5 separate regions of the Homo sapiens genome follow, and regions 1, 2, 4 and 5 are each linked to region 3. The links are contacts of gene promoters, found by promoter capture Hi-C in blood cells and fetal thymus (Javierre and others, 2016). All regions are on one chromosome and are shown on one strand. Each heading gives the region's core, a stretch centred on a gene start or on the middle of the fragment in contact. The rest is flanking DNA. Distances are from core to core; before and after follow the strand shown.

Evidence for each region. The method cuts DNA at HindIII sites, captures the fragments that hold promoters and counts their contacts. A CHiCAGO score of 5 or more calls a contact.
Region 1: a fragment that was not itself captured here is called in contact with the fragment with the promoter of UBALD2 in region 3 in 4 of 17 cell types (endothelial precursors, naive CD4 T cells, neutrophils and 1 more); the score reaches 7.7 in endothelial precursors.
Region 2: a contact is called between the fragment with the promoter of TRIM47 here and the fragment with the promoter of UBALD2 in region 3, in 10 of 17 cell types (fetal thymus, erythroblasts, endothelial precursors and 7 more). The highest score is 8.8, in fetal thymus.
Region 4: a contact is called between a fragment that was not itself captured here and the fragment with the promoter of UBALD2 in region 3, in 1 of 17 cell types (erythroblasts). The highest score is 5.4, in erythroblasts.
Region 5: the fragment with the promoter of FBF1 here is called in contact with the fragment with the promoter of UBALD2 in region 3 in 1 of 17 cell types (endothelial precursors); the score reaches 5.4 in endothelial precursors.

What each region holds. Positions count from the first base shown.
Region 1 is chr17:75,899,523-75,902,222 of GRCh38, forward strand. MRPL38 (mitochondrial ribosomal protein L38) reads right to left here. Exons shown (of 9, transcript NM_032478.4): 3 at 2,498-2,632; 4 at 2,190-2,398; 5 at 1,679-1,751; 6 at 1,460-1,505; 7 at 1-152. Among named protein-coding and RNA genes, the nearest start is that of TRIM65, 3.9 kb to the left of the region's middle. The HindIII fragment of the contact is 3,542 bases long and covers 1-2,700 here.
Region 2 is chr17:75,877,331-75,880,030 of GRCh38, forward strand. TRIM47 (tripartite motif containing 47) reads right to left here and starts at 1,251. Exons shown (of 6, transcript NM_033452.3): 1 at 544-1,251. The coding sequence starts at 1,218. It also overlaps a transcript of TRIM65 not described here. RefSeq lists enhancers at 1-625, 626-1,541 and silencers at 386-565, 576-955, 1,086-1,435. The HindIII fragment of the contact is 18,500 bases long and covers 1-2,700 here.
Region 3 is chr17:76,264,093-76,266,792 of GRCh38, forward strand. It overlaps UBALD2 (UBA like domain containing 2), which reads left to right and starts at 1,256. Exons shown (of 3, transcript NM_182565.4): 1 at 1,256-1,533; 2 at 1,815-1,877. The coding sequence starts at 1,414. It overlaps LOC105371896 (a long non-coding RNA gene), which reads right to left and starts at 989. Exons shown (of 6, transcript XR_007065913.1): 1 at 1-989. RefSeq lists enhancers at 659-708, 1,969-2,068 and silencers at 1,059-1,358, 1,659-1,798. The HindIII fragment of the contact is 2,310 bases long and covers 299-2,608 here.
Region 4 is chr17:75,859,913-75,862,612 of GRCh38, forward strand. No RefSeq gene overlaps it. Among named protein-coding and RNA genes, the nearest start is that of WBP2, 5.9 kb to the left of the region's middle. The HindIII fragment of the contact is 179 bases long and covers 1,313-1,491 here.
Region 5 is chr17:75,939,787-75,942,486 of GRCh38, forward strand. It overlaps FBF1 (Fas binding factor 1), which reads right to left and starts at 1,256. Exons shown (of 30, transcript NM_001319193.2): 1 at 1,062-1,256. ACOX1 (acyl-CoA oxidase 1) reads right to left here. Exons shown (of 14, transcript NM_004035.7): 14 at 1,721-2,700. RefSeq lists a silencer at 1,025-1,294 and an enhancer at 1,405-1,474. The HindIII fragment of the contact is 5,734 bases long and covers 1-1,492 here.

The sequences.
Region 1 (2,700 bases), core at 84-2,583, 360 kb before region 3:
AGGGGCGTGCGTCCTCAGAGAAGTCAATCGGCTGGTCCTGCTTGAAGAGCAGGAAGGCAAGACGGTGGATGCCGGAGCCTCGGGCAGGGAAGGGGGGGAGGTAGGGACACGTCACCTGTCCTTCAGCCACCCGGTTACCCGGGATGTTGGTTCTGGGAGGAGGAAAGTCCCGGTTAATTACCACTCCAGGGAGGCAGCAGGAGTGTCCCCTCAGCTCCATGCACACCCTAGAGGCTGACATGACTCCCTGGGAGGACAGCTCTAAGCATCTCTCTCCTGGGACAGAGGAGGCAGCCAAGCTCTGTGAACGCCGGGACATGCTGCAAATACGGGAAGCGGGCTGGAGGAGCTCCGAGTGGGGGACAGGGCTCCAGAGAGCATCAGCTTGACAGCAAGGCCATGCAGCCGCTTCCAGGCCCCGGGAGCCGGTGGGTCCGCCACAGTCACTGAGGCTAGAAAGCCAGGCCACTTTTGGCTGCTTTTCCCTCTGCGTCCTGAAGTCTCCAGGACCTCGTCAGGGAGTGTGTGCCCAGCCTGGCACAGGGGCGGCCAACGCCTCAGGCACAAATCCCCAGAGGGTCCTGCCGCATAGGCTGGTAACAGTTGAATAAAAATGACGGAAACCAGCCTCCCAGTCACTGTCCCCAGTTAACCAGAAGGCTCAAAGTTGGGGTCACTGGCCTGACCTCTGCCCCCTGGCCTGGTGTTCAGAGCCAAAAGCTACCAAGATGGAAGGCCGCCCAGTCTGGGCCCAGGGAAGGAGCGCCCAGTGGTTCAAGGAGCACCTGGGGGACGCCACAGCTGCTAGGCCTCTCCCGCTCCTTCTCCCACGTGACTGTCACAGTCCACCTCACGCTGAGTAAGGCATGTGGTGCCATTATCCCAGTTTTACAGGTGAAGAAATGAGTTTAGAGACGAAGGGCCCAGGCATGGTGGCTCACGCTTATAATCCTAGCACTTTGGGAGGCGGAGGCGGGCAGATCGCTTGAGCTCAGGAGACCAGCCTGGGCAACATGGTGAAACCCTGTCTCTATAAAAAAATACAAAAATTAGCTGGGTGTAGTGGTTTGCACCTGTAGTCCCAGCTACTCAGGAGACTGAGGTGGGAAGAGCACCTGAGCCCAGGAGTTAGCGGCTGCAATTAGCCATGATTGCACCACTGTACTCCAGCCTGGGGGACAGAGTGAGACCCTGTCTCAAAAAAAAAAAAAAAAAAGAAAAGAAAAGATGAGGAGGCTTGTGGGGACTGACCGAGGCCTACTGCAAACTTTGTCTCCTGTAGCTGTCTTCAAGTAGACACGTGGATCCCAGGGCCCCTAACACCCTCAGGAGGCAGAGGTGGCAGGTGAATTCAAGGTCCCATGGGTAGTCCATGAAACTCAGGAGCAGCTCAGTCCAGGCTCCCAGCTCCTCTTCCCGCCTGGGCAGCACCCCCTACCCCCAGTACTCCAGTACTCACAGCAGCCAGTGGAGGTACTCAGCATCTGGCTCCAGCAGGTGCCCATCTGCACAAAAACACACCTGCTGACCACGGCCCAGCCGACCACGGCCCTGCCACCCCCTCCCTTGTTAGGAGCCAGCGCTGGAGATCTCCACCTGGCCCCTCCCCCAGCCCCCCAGGGCCCTGGCTCATAGGAGGTGAGCGGGGCAGGAGGCCTGGTGAGCCCCAGACACCCACCCAAGCTAGTGAGTAGCAACGTCCACAAGGAGCCCTCTTCTGCCTCATAGGTCACCTCTGGCGCTTGGGCAGCCTGGCAGGGTGAGAAGGAAGCTGTCAGCCCCACCAGGGACAGGCCAGCTGTTGCAGGGAGCCTTGGAGAAAGGGGTGCCCACTCTGACCCAAAAGCCCTTGACAACCCCTGGCACAGGCAGGCAGGCAAAGGGATGCGTAGAGAAGCAGCCCTGCAGAGTTGCCTGTCCAGGCAACAACCACAAAAACGAACATGTGCCAAGGCCGGGCCAGGAGGGCACACCACAGACAGCAGGCTGGTCACAGGAATGTGCTAAGACAGAGCCTCTTTTTCCTTCATTTTGTTCTATTTTCTTTGAAATTGTCATGGTGTCGTCTTCCAGGAAATCAAAGAGACAGAGAACAACAAAATTCCAAACCCAGGAGTGTCTGTGACACTGAGATGGGATGTGTCTGTGTTTGCACAGGGCAGGGAGGAGGGGCACAAGTGAGTGGTTACCTCGGTTGGAGTCACCTCATTGCCACAGTACACAGGCATCAGGTCATCCTCACCCACAGCGTAGGCCACGTGCAGGGGGACTCGGGGCACAAAGGTGGCACCGTGGAACAGGTCTCGGTAGAGGCCGTAATACTCAGCCAGACGCTGCTTGTGGTAGGGGCCACAGGTCCTCTCCCACTCGGCCCGCACGGCATCCAGCGGGACACTGGCTAGACAGGAATAAGGCCAGTTGGGATACGGGGGTGGGGGGGGCAGGGACACACCCTGTACCCCAACTCTGGGATGGCCCCTCCCCTGAGAAGGCTTACCTGTGCGGAGGCGGGCAGCCCGCTCCTCTTCCACATTGGCCCGAAGCTCCTGGATGGCCTGTTTCCGTTCCAGTAGCTGTTGGGTCCGGGAGACTTTGGGTGGAGGCAGCCCAATATCAATCTTCTCTTTGGGATCTGGAGTGGGAAGATGTGTGGGAAAAACAGGGTCATGACTCACTGCAGCCTTAACCTCCCCAACTCAG
Region 2 (2,700 bases), core at 1-2,500, 390 kb before region 3:
CAGAGGCGCCAAGACCGGGCTGGAGGCCAAAGGAAACTGGGGGCGGGAGGTAGAGGCCGCGGCTCACATGCTCCCACCACTGGCCCCCGGAACAGCTGGACAGAGAATCTGTGTGCCCGGTCGCCCTCTGCCGCCCTCCTGCCGCCTGCCACACCCATCGAAAGCTGCTGCCTCAGCCCAGGGCAAATCTGAGCTGAGACCGGCGTGACCCTCCGGGCGGGAGCAGCAGCCACGCTACCGGAACCCCGCGGGCCTAACCCGGCTCCCTCCCGCCTACACCCCCATAGACCCCGGCCCGGCTTCAGGTCCCCTGCCCGCTCTTCGCGTCCTTGTCCTGTTCTCACGTCCCTCCTTCCTCCCTTCCCATCTCCATCACCGCCAGCAGATGACCTTGTCAAGGCTGGAAGGGACCGCAAAGATCCTCAGGTTAGAGGAGGAGATTAAGACCCAACCCGGGAAGACTGGGGGGTCCAAGGTCCTCGGCCCGCTCGCGCGCGGTCGGTCACCAGCCCCGGCTCACCCGAGTGTGCCCCCGGAGCCCACCTCCTGAAGCGCGCGCTCCTGCTCCAGCGGCACCAGCTCGTGGCCGCGGTGCTCCTGTGCGGCGCAGGCCTCGCACAGACACACGCGCTCCGCGCGGCAGTAGCGCTCGAGCGGCCGTAGGTGGCGCGGGCACAGGCTCTCCTCTAGCCGGCGCAGCGGCGGCACCAGGCGGTGTCCGCGGAGGGCGGGGCTGCGCTCGTGCGGGCCCAGGTGCGCGGGGCAAAAGGAGGCGAGGCAGGAGAGGCAGGACAGCGCGGCGGGCAGGGCCGCGCCCTCGGGGCACGCGTCGCAGCGCACTGGCTCTTCGCCCGCGGGCCACGGCTCGGGAGCGCAGGGGGCCGACGGCTCCGGGACACTGGGCAGCGCGCTGGGTGCCGAGGGCTCCGGGGCCAGGGCAGGGGCCGGGCCGGGGCCGGACCCGGGGCCCGAGCCCTGGCGGAGCTGCAGCAGCTCGGACAGCGTGTGGTTCTTGCGGAGCTGAAGGCCGTCGGGGAAGGGCTCCTGGCACAGCGGGCAGCGGGCCGCGCCTCCGGGTCCGCCGGCTCCACTCGCGCCACGATGCGGCCAGAGCGCGCCCAGGCAGGCGAGACAGAAGTTGTGGCCGCAGGGCAGCGTCACCGGCTCCCGGAGTGGCTCTAGGCAGATGGGGCAGCTGAAGGGTCCACTGCCGTCCATGACTCCGCGGCCGCCCAGGGCGCCGCCGATTGTGCTCCGGCCTGGGAGGGACCCGGGCCGTTCGCGCCGCGGCACCTCCCCCTGGGACCTAGGCCAGGGCTCCGGCCCCCGCCCGCCCCCAGCTCGGCCCGCCCCGCAGCACCGCCCGCCTGCGGGCCCGCGGACTCCCAGTCCCCGCCCAGACAACGCAGGGAGGCCTCCGAGCCCGCGCGACCCCCAGGGGAGTCCGCGTGGTCCTAAGGAAGGGCGCTGCTGAAAGGGTGTGAAACTGAGTGAGCGCGGGCGGAGAACGCGAGAGGTACAGTGGAAGGAATGGGAAGGACTCAGCCTCCATCCCTCTGGTCCTTCTGGGCCAGGCCAGCGCTCCGCAGGGGCTGGGCGCGTCTAGCTGTGTCATGCCTGCACCTTTGCGCTCGACCCCTCCCTGGCACCCTTAGCAAAGTTCCTGAGCTGCTGACTGCAGAGAAAAATAACTGCTGATGTACATATGTTTTTGCCCCTTAGCGACTCTTTTTTTTTTTTTTTTTGAGACAGAGTTCCTCTCTTGTCGCCCAGGCTGGAGTGCAGGGGCGCTATCTCGGCTCACTGCAACCTCCGCCTCCCGGATTCAAGTGATTCTCCTGCCTTAGCCTCCCAAGTAGCTGGAATTATAGGCGCTTGCCACCACACCAGGCAAATTTTTGTATTTTTTTGTAGAGACGGAGTTTCACCTTGTCCAGGCTGGTCTTGAACTCGTGACCTCAGGTGATCCACCTGCCTCGGCCTCCCAAAGTGCTGGGATTACAGGCGTGAGCCACAGCGCCCAGCTCCTTTAGCGACTCTTTACCCCAAGTAGGGAACTTGGACTTTTCTAGACCTGAAATGGGAAGTTGACGTCATTCCCTAAGTCCCTTGTCTGAGGAATGTAGTTCTGGCCCCTGGACACTGGGGACACCTGTGGTGGGGTTGGGGGTTCCCCAACTGGAAGTATTTAAAGCTCATCTAATTATGCACTTAAAGTGGTGCGTTTTATTGTATGAGTTATATCTCAATAATGTTAAGTTAAAACACTACACCAGAATGACAACAAAATAAGTAAAGTAGCACTGATTATAACCCAAAGTGTAAAATAAACATCTATGAGTCCATGCCGATATAAATAAATAATAAATTAACAAGCTGGGGAGAACAGACATATTTCGCATTGAAAATTCCAAATAATGTTTTTTTATTTTTATTTTTTTAGATGGAGTTTCGCTCTTGTCGCCCAGGCTGGAGTGCAGTGGCGCAATCTCAGCTCACTGCAACCTCTGTCTCCTGGGTTCAAGCGATTCTCCCTCCTCGGACTCTTGAGTAGCTGGGATTACAGGCGCCCGCCACCACATTTGGCTAATTTTTGTATTTTTAGTAGAGACGGGGTTTCACCATGTTGGCCAAGCTGGTCTCGAACTGCTGACTTCAGGTGATCCACCCGCCTCGGCCTCCCAAAGTGCTGGGATTACA
Region 3 (2,700 bases), core at 6-2,505:
TTTAAAGGGCTACCACTGAGAAACAGTATCTCTGTAGAAACACTCACTGTTTGTTATTGTTTGTTTTTATTTGGTAGAGATGGAGTCTGTGCTATGTTGCCCAAGCTGGTGTTGAACTCCCGGCCTCAAGTTATCCTCCTGTCTCGGCCTCCCAAAGTGCTGGGATTATAGGTGTAAGCCATCCCAACCCCAGACTCCACCCCTACTGCCACCCGTTGTTTTTTTAAAAGATGGTAGAAATTAAAGCTTCATCTTAGCTTTCGTGACAAGCAAGAGAAAAAAAAAAAAAGAAAATTAAAGCTTCAGTTAGGTCAACCGATTTAACAAGAAAAAATTCTTGACTTGGCATTTTGGCCACTGAGAAAGTCTCACTTTTTTCCTTGCATATTTCCTTGCATATCGTATTTATTGTACATAAATCTTGGCTTCCATCTTCAGAGAGCAAAGTCTTTGGTCTAAAAACTGAGAAAATACTGCTCGATCCTTGCGGTGGGTAGTGATTAGAAGAGGGCAGGACGCGGGTTCCTAGGGTGCAAGTAACGTTCTGTTAATTGATCTGGGTGTTCACTTGGTGAAAAGTCTGGAAGCTGTACCTGCGACATCGCACTTTCCTAATGTACGTTATATTTCAATAAAAGATTTTTTTAAATTGGACTGCTTGAAAGTTATTTTTAAAAATTACATGCTTTTGAGACTTGAGCAGCTGCAAAGGCTCTGTTTTCTATTTTGATCATTCTGTTTCTCGAGATGACCACATCTTTCAGAGGAAATGAGTCAAAGCCACTCTGTCTTGCTTTTCCAGCTGAGCATGTTCTGTTTCAATGAAGTAATGAATGAACTTGGCCGCACCACCCCCAAGCCTACAACAGCAAACAGAGGGCCCTCGGCCAATCAGCAGGCACTCCGGGTTTTCAAGTTGAGTTCAAACAGGACCACCGGAGGCCAATCAGAGTGCGCGGCCCCGCCCCGAACGCCCGGCCGTGACCAACCACGAGGCCGGATGAGCCAAAACACAGCGGCCGGCCAATGCTGGGGAGCCCCACGGCGCCGAGCTCCGCCAATGGGCGCGGCCGGGCGAAAAGAGAAACAGTGAGGGCCCCACAGGCCGCAGGATTCGAATCGAACGTCCTTACGGGAGCCGGGCGCTGGCGGAGCGGCGCCCCGGCCAATCAGCGGCAGTCCCCGAACGTTGGGCCGGCCCAGCCCCGCCCCGCGCTGTTGTTTGTGGTGTCGGCCGGGCCGCGGGAGTCGAACCACAACATTCGCCGGGCGGGCGGCGGCGGAGCGGGCGGCGGAGCGGCGGCAGCAGCGGTGAGCGCGAGCCCCGGAGCCCCGGGCGGCCGGCCTCCCGCGCCCGCGCAGCCCCGCGTCTGCGTCCGGCCGGAGACGCCGGGCCCCGCGCCGCGCCGCGCCATGTCGGTGAACATGGACGAGCTGCGGCACCAGGTCATGATCAACCAGTTCGTGCTGGCCGCGGGCTGCGCGGCCGACCAGGCGAAGCAGTTGCTGCAGGCGGCCCACTGGCAGTTCGAGGTGCGAGCCTGGCCGCCGCGGGGCCGGGCCGCGGGGGTCGGGGACGCCGGGCGGCGGCGGGGGCGGGGAGCGCTCCTGTTGTCGGCCCGGAAGGCGATCGGCGCCCGCGAGCGGGTCTTACGCGGGACCGGGGCCGGGACCGGCTCCCCTCTGCACGTGGGGCAGCCGAGGGTCGGGGGCCGCGGGCCGGGCGCGGAGGCGGGGAGAGCCGGTGGGGGGCCCAGCCGCTGCGTTTCCTGACTCCGCCTGGCCCGCCGTGTCACTGCCCTGTTTGTCCGCAGACCGCGCTGAGCACGTTCTTCCAAGAAACCAACATTCCCAACAGCCACCACCACCACCAGATGGTAAGCGGCGGCGGGCAGGGGCGCGGGCCGGGGCCGCTGTCAGCGCGGCGGTGACAGCCATGTTGCCGGGGAGCGCCGCGCCGCGAATGTAAACAAAGAGCCAAAATGTCTTCCAGGAAAGAGCGGCTCCCGGGCCGGCGCTGGCGCCTCCAACTTTGAGGCCCGCCTCCCGGGCTGCTGCTGCTTGGCCTCGGGACTGGTGCCCGGCACTGGTCCCTGGGGGGAAGCGGCGCCAAAGTTGGGGGGAGGGGGAGAGGGCCGGGGGCCTGGCGAGGGGCTCAGGAGCTGGGGGACCCCAGAGCCAGGGGATGGGGAGGGGGAGAGGGTGATGCCCGGACGTCTGGGGCACTGGGAAGCCCGCGCGAAGGGCCCAGGGAGGGCGATGGGGGTGCTTGTGTTTATGGGGACCCCCTCGTGCTGTTGAGTGGTTTCCCCCCTCCCCCTCCACACACACACACACCCAGCGCTACAGGGAACAGGAAAGGCATGAATCCACCCTGGCTCAGGAAGCCGGGCTCTACCCACAAAGATCTGTTCAACCTTCCGAAGCCCAAGGGGACTGGGAAGTTGGAAGGACATACATCCCCCAAGCCAGGAGGACACACAGATTTTGACCCAAGATAAGGCCAGGAATGTGTCTTTAATCTCTGTGTTGAGCTCCACCAGCCCAGCACACAGAGAAGTGGTCCGGGGTCTGGATTTGCTTTCTTTTTCATTCTAGCCCAGGCCCAAGCTTTTGCCCTCCTGGCCATGGGGTACTCTGCTTTCTTGAGGCCCAGGACATCTCTCCTGTACCCTACCCCCCTAGTTACCTATTAGCCCT
Region 4 (2,700 bases), core at 152-2,651, 400 kb before region 3:
ACAGTAAAAATATATAGGGCTTGAGCCCAGGAGTTTGAGACCAGCCTGGGTGACAGAGCGAGACCCTGTCTTACATTGTCACTCAGGCTGGAGTGGTGCAGTCATGGCTTACTGCACCTTCAACCTCCCGGGCTCAAGCAATCTTTTTACGTCAGCCTCCTAAGTAGCTGGGACTACAAGTGCACATCACCATGCCTGGCTAGTTTAAAAAATTTTTTTGGTAGAGATGGGGTTCCATTATGTTGCCCAGGATGGTCTTGAACTCCTGGCATCAAGCAGTGGTCCTGCCTCAGCCTCCCAAGTAGCTGAGAGTACAGGCCCTGCCACCACCACATGCTGCTTAATTTGTATTTTGTAGTGGGATATATTCTGAAATTTTCTGTTTTATTTTGTCATCTTAAAAAATTGCTGCAAGCAGCCGGGCGCAGTTGCTGACGCCTGTAAATCCAGCACTTTGGGAGGCCGAGGCAGGCAGATCACGAGGTCAGGAGATCAAGACCATCCTGGCTAACACGGTGAAACCCTGTCTCTACTAAAAAAAAAAAATACAAAAAAATTAGCCGGGTGTGGTGGTGAGCACCTGTAGTCCCAGCTACTCAGGAGGCTGAGGCAGGAGAATGGCGTGAACCCAGGAGGCGGAGCTTGCAGTGAGCAGAGATCGAGCCACTGCACTCCAGTCTCGGCGACAGAGTGAGACTCCGTCTCAAAAAAAAAAAAAAAAATTGCTGAAAGGGCCGGGCTCGGTGGCTCGCACCTCTAATCCCAGCACTTTGGGAAGCCGAGGCGGGCAGATCACCTGAGTCAGGAGTTCAAGACCAGCCTGGCCAACATGGTGAAACCCCGTCTCTACTAAAACTACAAAATTAGCCGGGCATGGTGGCGCAAGCCTGTAATCCCAGCTACTCGGGAGGCTGAGGCAGGAGAATAGCTGGAATCTGGAAGACGGAGGTTGCAGTGAGCCGAGATGGCGCCATTGCACTCCAGCCTGGGCAAAAAGAGTGAAACTCAAAAAAAAAAAAAGTGCTGCCGGCGTGGTGGCTCACGGCGGACACTTGAGGTCAGGAGTTTGAGACCAGCCTGGCCAACATGGTGAAGCCCCCATCTCTACTAAAAATACAAAAAGTTAGCCGGGGGTGGTGGAGCGCACCTGTAGTCCCAGCTACTCAGGAGGCTGAGGTGGGAGGATTGCTTCGCTCAGGAGGCAGAGGCTGCAGTGAGCTGAGTTCGCACCATTGCACTCCAGCCTGGGTGACAGAGTGAGACCCCCATCTCAAAAAACAAAACAAAACACCAAAATCAACAATAATACAGAAGCTTGAAAGAGGAGCCCCAGGGTACTAAAACCCAGCCCTCTGAAGAGCGGGCCTGGGCCGGCTGGTGCTGGTGCCCGTGCCTCTGAAGGGAGCTCAGGGTAGCTGGTTCTGCAAGGGTTGGAAAAAGTAGAAACTGGATTCAGCTGCTGCTAAAGAACTGCAGCTGCCCCAATGAAGAAGCTTTCCTGGGTACAATACAGGCAAAAATAGTGAGCAGATGGGAGGCTGGGGCCTTCTCCAGCCCTTCAGGCCTCTCTAGCGCCCCCTCTTGGCAGAGCCTGGCAGGGAGCAGCAGGCAATGGAGAAACGTGGCTCTGGGTGCATTGGCTCATGCCTGTAATCATAGCAGTTTGGGAGGCCCAGGCAGGTGGATCACCTGAGGGCAGGCGTTCGAGGCCAGCCTGGGCAACACGGTGAAACCCCATCTCTACTAAAAATACGAAAATTATCTGGGCGTGGTGGCGTGTGCCTGTAGTCCCAGCTACTCAGGAGGCTGAGGCAAGAAAATCTCTGGAATCCAGGAGGCAGAGCTTGCAGTGAGCCAAGATCGCACCACTGCACTCCAGCCTGGGCGACAGGGCAAGACTTCATCTCAAAAAGTAGTAATAAAAAATAAAATTAAGAAAACAAAGACATGTGGCTCTGAGTCCCAGCCAGACCATGAAGCTGAGTTGGGTGGGTGGGTGTTATGAGTTGAGTTCGGTCCCCCCGACTTCAAATTCACATGTTGAAGTCCTGACCTGCAGTACCTCTGAAAGTGACCTTATTTGGAAATAGGGTTGTTGAAGACATCATTAGTTAAGATGAGATCATTAGGGTGGGCCCTAAATCCAGCGTGACTGGTGCCCTTGTAAGAAGGAGAAACTTGGACACAGACACACACGCAGGGAGAAGGCAGGCGGTGCAAAGAGGGAGGCAGAGAGCTACCAAGATTGCTACACGGATTGCTACATATTGTCAACAAACCACCAGAAGCAAGGAGAGCGTCAGGGGACAGATTCGCTCTCACAGCCTCAGAAGGAGTCAACCCTGCCCGTACCTTGATTCCAGACTTCGGTCTCCAGCACTGAGACAATACATTTTGATTGTTTTTGTTTGTTTGTTTGTTTTGAGACGGAGTCTCACTCTGTCGCCCAGGCTGGAGTGCACTGGCGCGATCTCAGCTCACTGCAAGCTCCGCCTCCGGGATTCACGCCATTCTCCTGCCTCAGCCTCCCGAGTAGCTGGGACTACAGGCGCCCGCCACCACGCCCAGCTAATTTTTTTGTATTTTTAGTAGAGACGGGGGGGGTTCCACCGTGTTAGCCAGGATGGTCTCGATCTCCTGACCTCGTGATGTGCCCGCCTCGGCCTCCCACAGTGCTGGGATTACAGGCGTGAGCCACCG
Region 5 (2,700 bases), core at 6-2,505, 320 kb before region 3:
CCTCCCCCTCCTCCACTTTACCAAAACCCACCTACAGGATGTCCTGGAAGAAAGGAGTCAGAGGGGTCCTCTTTATGTCCCAAGTATTGGCCTGTCCTGTTATTGGAATGCAAGGGTTATCTGGGCTTACCTACAGAGCCCACCCTGAATACATGTGTTTTCTTTTTTTTCTTTTTTTAGACGGAGTCTTGCTCTGTTGCCCAGGATGGAGTGCAGTGGTGCGATCTTGGCTCACCACAACCTCAGCCTCCCGGGTTCAAGCGAATCTCCTGCCTCAGCCTCCCGAGTAGCTGGGAATACAGGCACATGCCACCATGCCCGGTTAATTTTTGTATTTTTAGTAGAGACGGGGTTTCACTGTTGGCCAGGAGGTCTCGAACTCCTGACCTCGTGATCTGCCCGTCTCGGCCTCCCAAAGTGCTAGGATTACAGGTGTGAGCCACCACGCCTGGCCTTCTTTCTTTTTTTTTTTTCCAGACAGGGTCTCGCTCTGTTGCCCAGGCTGGAGTGCAGTGGCACGATCACAGCTCTCATAGCTTACTGCAGCCTCGACCTCCTTGGGCTCAGGCGATCCTCCAATGTCAGCCTCCCTAGCAGCTGGGACCACAGGCACACGCCACCATGTGCGGCAAATTTTAAAATTTTTTTTGTAGAGACGGGGGTCTCCCTATGTTGCCCAGGGTCGTCCCAGACGCCTGGCCTCAAGTGATCCTCCCGCCTTGGCCTCCCAAAGTGTCGGGATTACAGGCGTGAGCCACCGTGCCCGGCCTTGTTTCTTTTTCTCTGCAATGGCGACTTCACGACCTACAAGTCCAAATGTGTCCCATAACACATCAAGGAACTTCTGGCATCTCCTATCGATCCTGTACGGGCTTCTCAGACTATGGGGATTTTCTAGGCTTGGTTTGCCAAGGCCAAAGGGCTACAGAGTAACCCCGTCCCCACATGTATTCAGCCGACTCCATGCCAGGCGTTTTACAGATCCCGAGACCACCCCTAAGCAAGACCCCTAGCCGGAGTCGCCCCTCCGTCCCGAGACTCCGCGCCCCTCAATGCGTCACCCTTCTGAGCGCCCGGCCTATCTGGCCCCGGAGCGCAGCCTGTAACGCTCTCAGCCCCGGAAGCCTCCTGTTACGCGCCGTGCCCCCGGAGGTGCGGCCGCTGGGACCAGCGCCGGCCCTGGCTCCATTCGGGTCGCCCAGCCCGGCCAGGACTGGCCTCCCGCTTCCAGCCGCTGCCGGCACCCTCAGCCGTCTGGCCTCCCGCGGAAAGGCGGGCGCGAGGCATCCTGGGAGTCGCAGTCGGCGGTCGACTCACCCGCCCTCACAGAGGAGGTGGGGACGCCATGAAGAACTACAGCTCCCAGGGAGCCGCGCGCGGCAGTTGGCGGGGCCGGGCTTCTGCCGGCGGCGGGCACGTTGCTAGGAGCTGCCCCAACGCCTCTCCGGGAAGAGGGCGCCAGGCTCAAAGGCCCTCTTGGGAACTGCCGGGAAGCTTAAAAGTTCCTCCTGCCCACTTCTGAGGGCTGACACGTGGCCGACGCGGAGGCGTGAGAAATGTGTTGATATTGGGAGGTTGACGGGTGAATCCACAAATTCACCGGTGTTTATTCCACACCCCAAAGCTTGAGGGAAGTGACTGACCTGTTTAATGATCCAATCAAAGCTGTATAGCCAGAATGAAACCCAATACTGTCGCCCCACAAAAAGATTAAGTCACATTTTTTCTAGTATGTGCTAATTATGAATTTTATTAAGGTTTATTCAATGTCACAGAGGAAAGAACGGTTTGTAGTTTTGCTTACCCGCAGTGCTGGCAGGTCACAGCTGTCCAACCATGATCCATTCACATGCTCTGGCCCCGTGCCCCTCGTCCTCCCACCCCTACCCCACAGGACACCATTAAGCCAGGGCTGGGTAACAACATATGCTCAATGCATCTTCTCAGGTGAGAACCAAACTCGAGCCACAACAGCAAAGGGGGAAAAAGGTAGCAAAGTAATTATGTGCTCCCAAGGCAGTCATTTAGTTGAATCCATAACTGGAAATAAAAAGGCATTTATGAAGTGTAGTCCGCAGTCTGAATGTGGAAGGTGGAAGATCACACATTTACTAAGAAACACTCAAAACATATTTTGGTTCAGAATTCTAAAAAATCCCGAATTTTCCATGATCTTCCCAAGACAACCAATGACCCACTTAAATTTAAGGCAAAAACACCCTTGAATCTAGGAATGTGCACATATGCAACAGCTAACATCTGGTAACTCTAATAATGTTCCTTATATGTTTCTGTGTTTACTATCATGAACCATAGGAAGAAGTACTGGAAAATTTAGTAAGTGTGGACAGTTAAAAACACTGGCCCGGCACGGTGGCTCACGCCTGTAATCCCAGCACTTTGGGAGGCCGAGGTGGGTGGATCACGAGGTCAGGAGTTCAAGACCAGCCTGGCCAACTTGGTGAAACCCCTGTCTCTACTAAAAATACAAAAAAACTAGACAGGCATGGTGGCAGGCGCTGTAATCCCAGCTTCTCAGGAGGCTGAGGCAGAGAATTGCTTGAACCCGGGAGGCAGAGGTTGCAGTGAGCCAAGATTTCGCCACTGCACTCTACCCTGGGTGAAAGAGCAAGACAACGTCTCAAAAAAAAAAAAAAAAAAAAAAGCAAAACCCCACCATCAATATTTTAAAATAAAAAG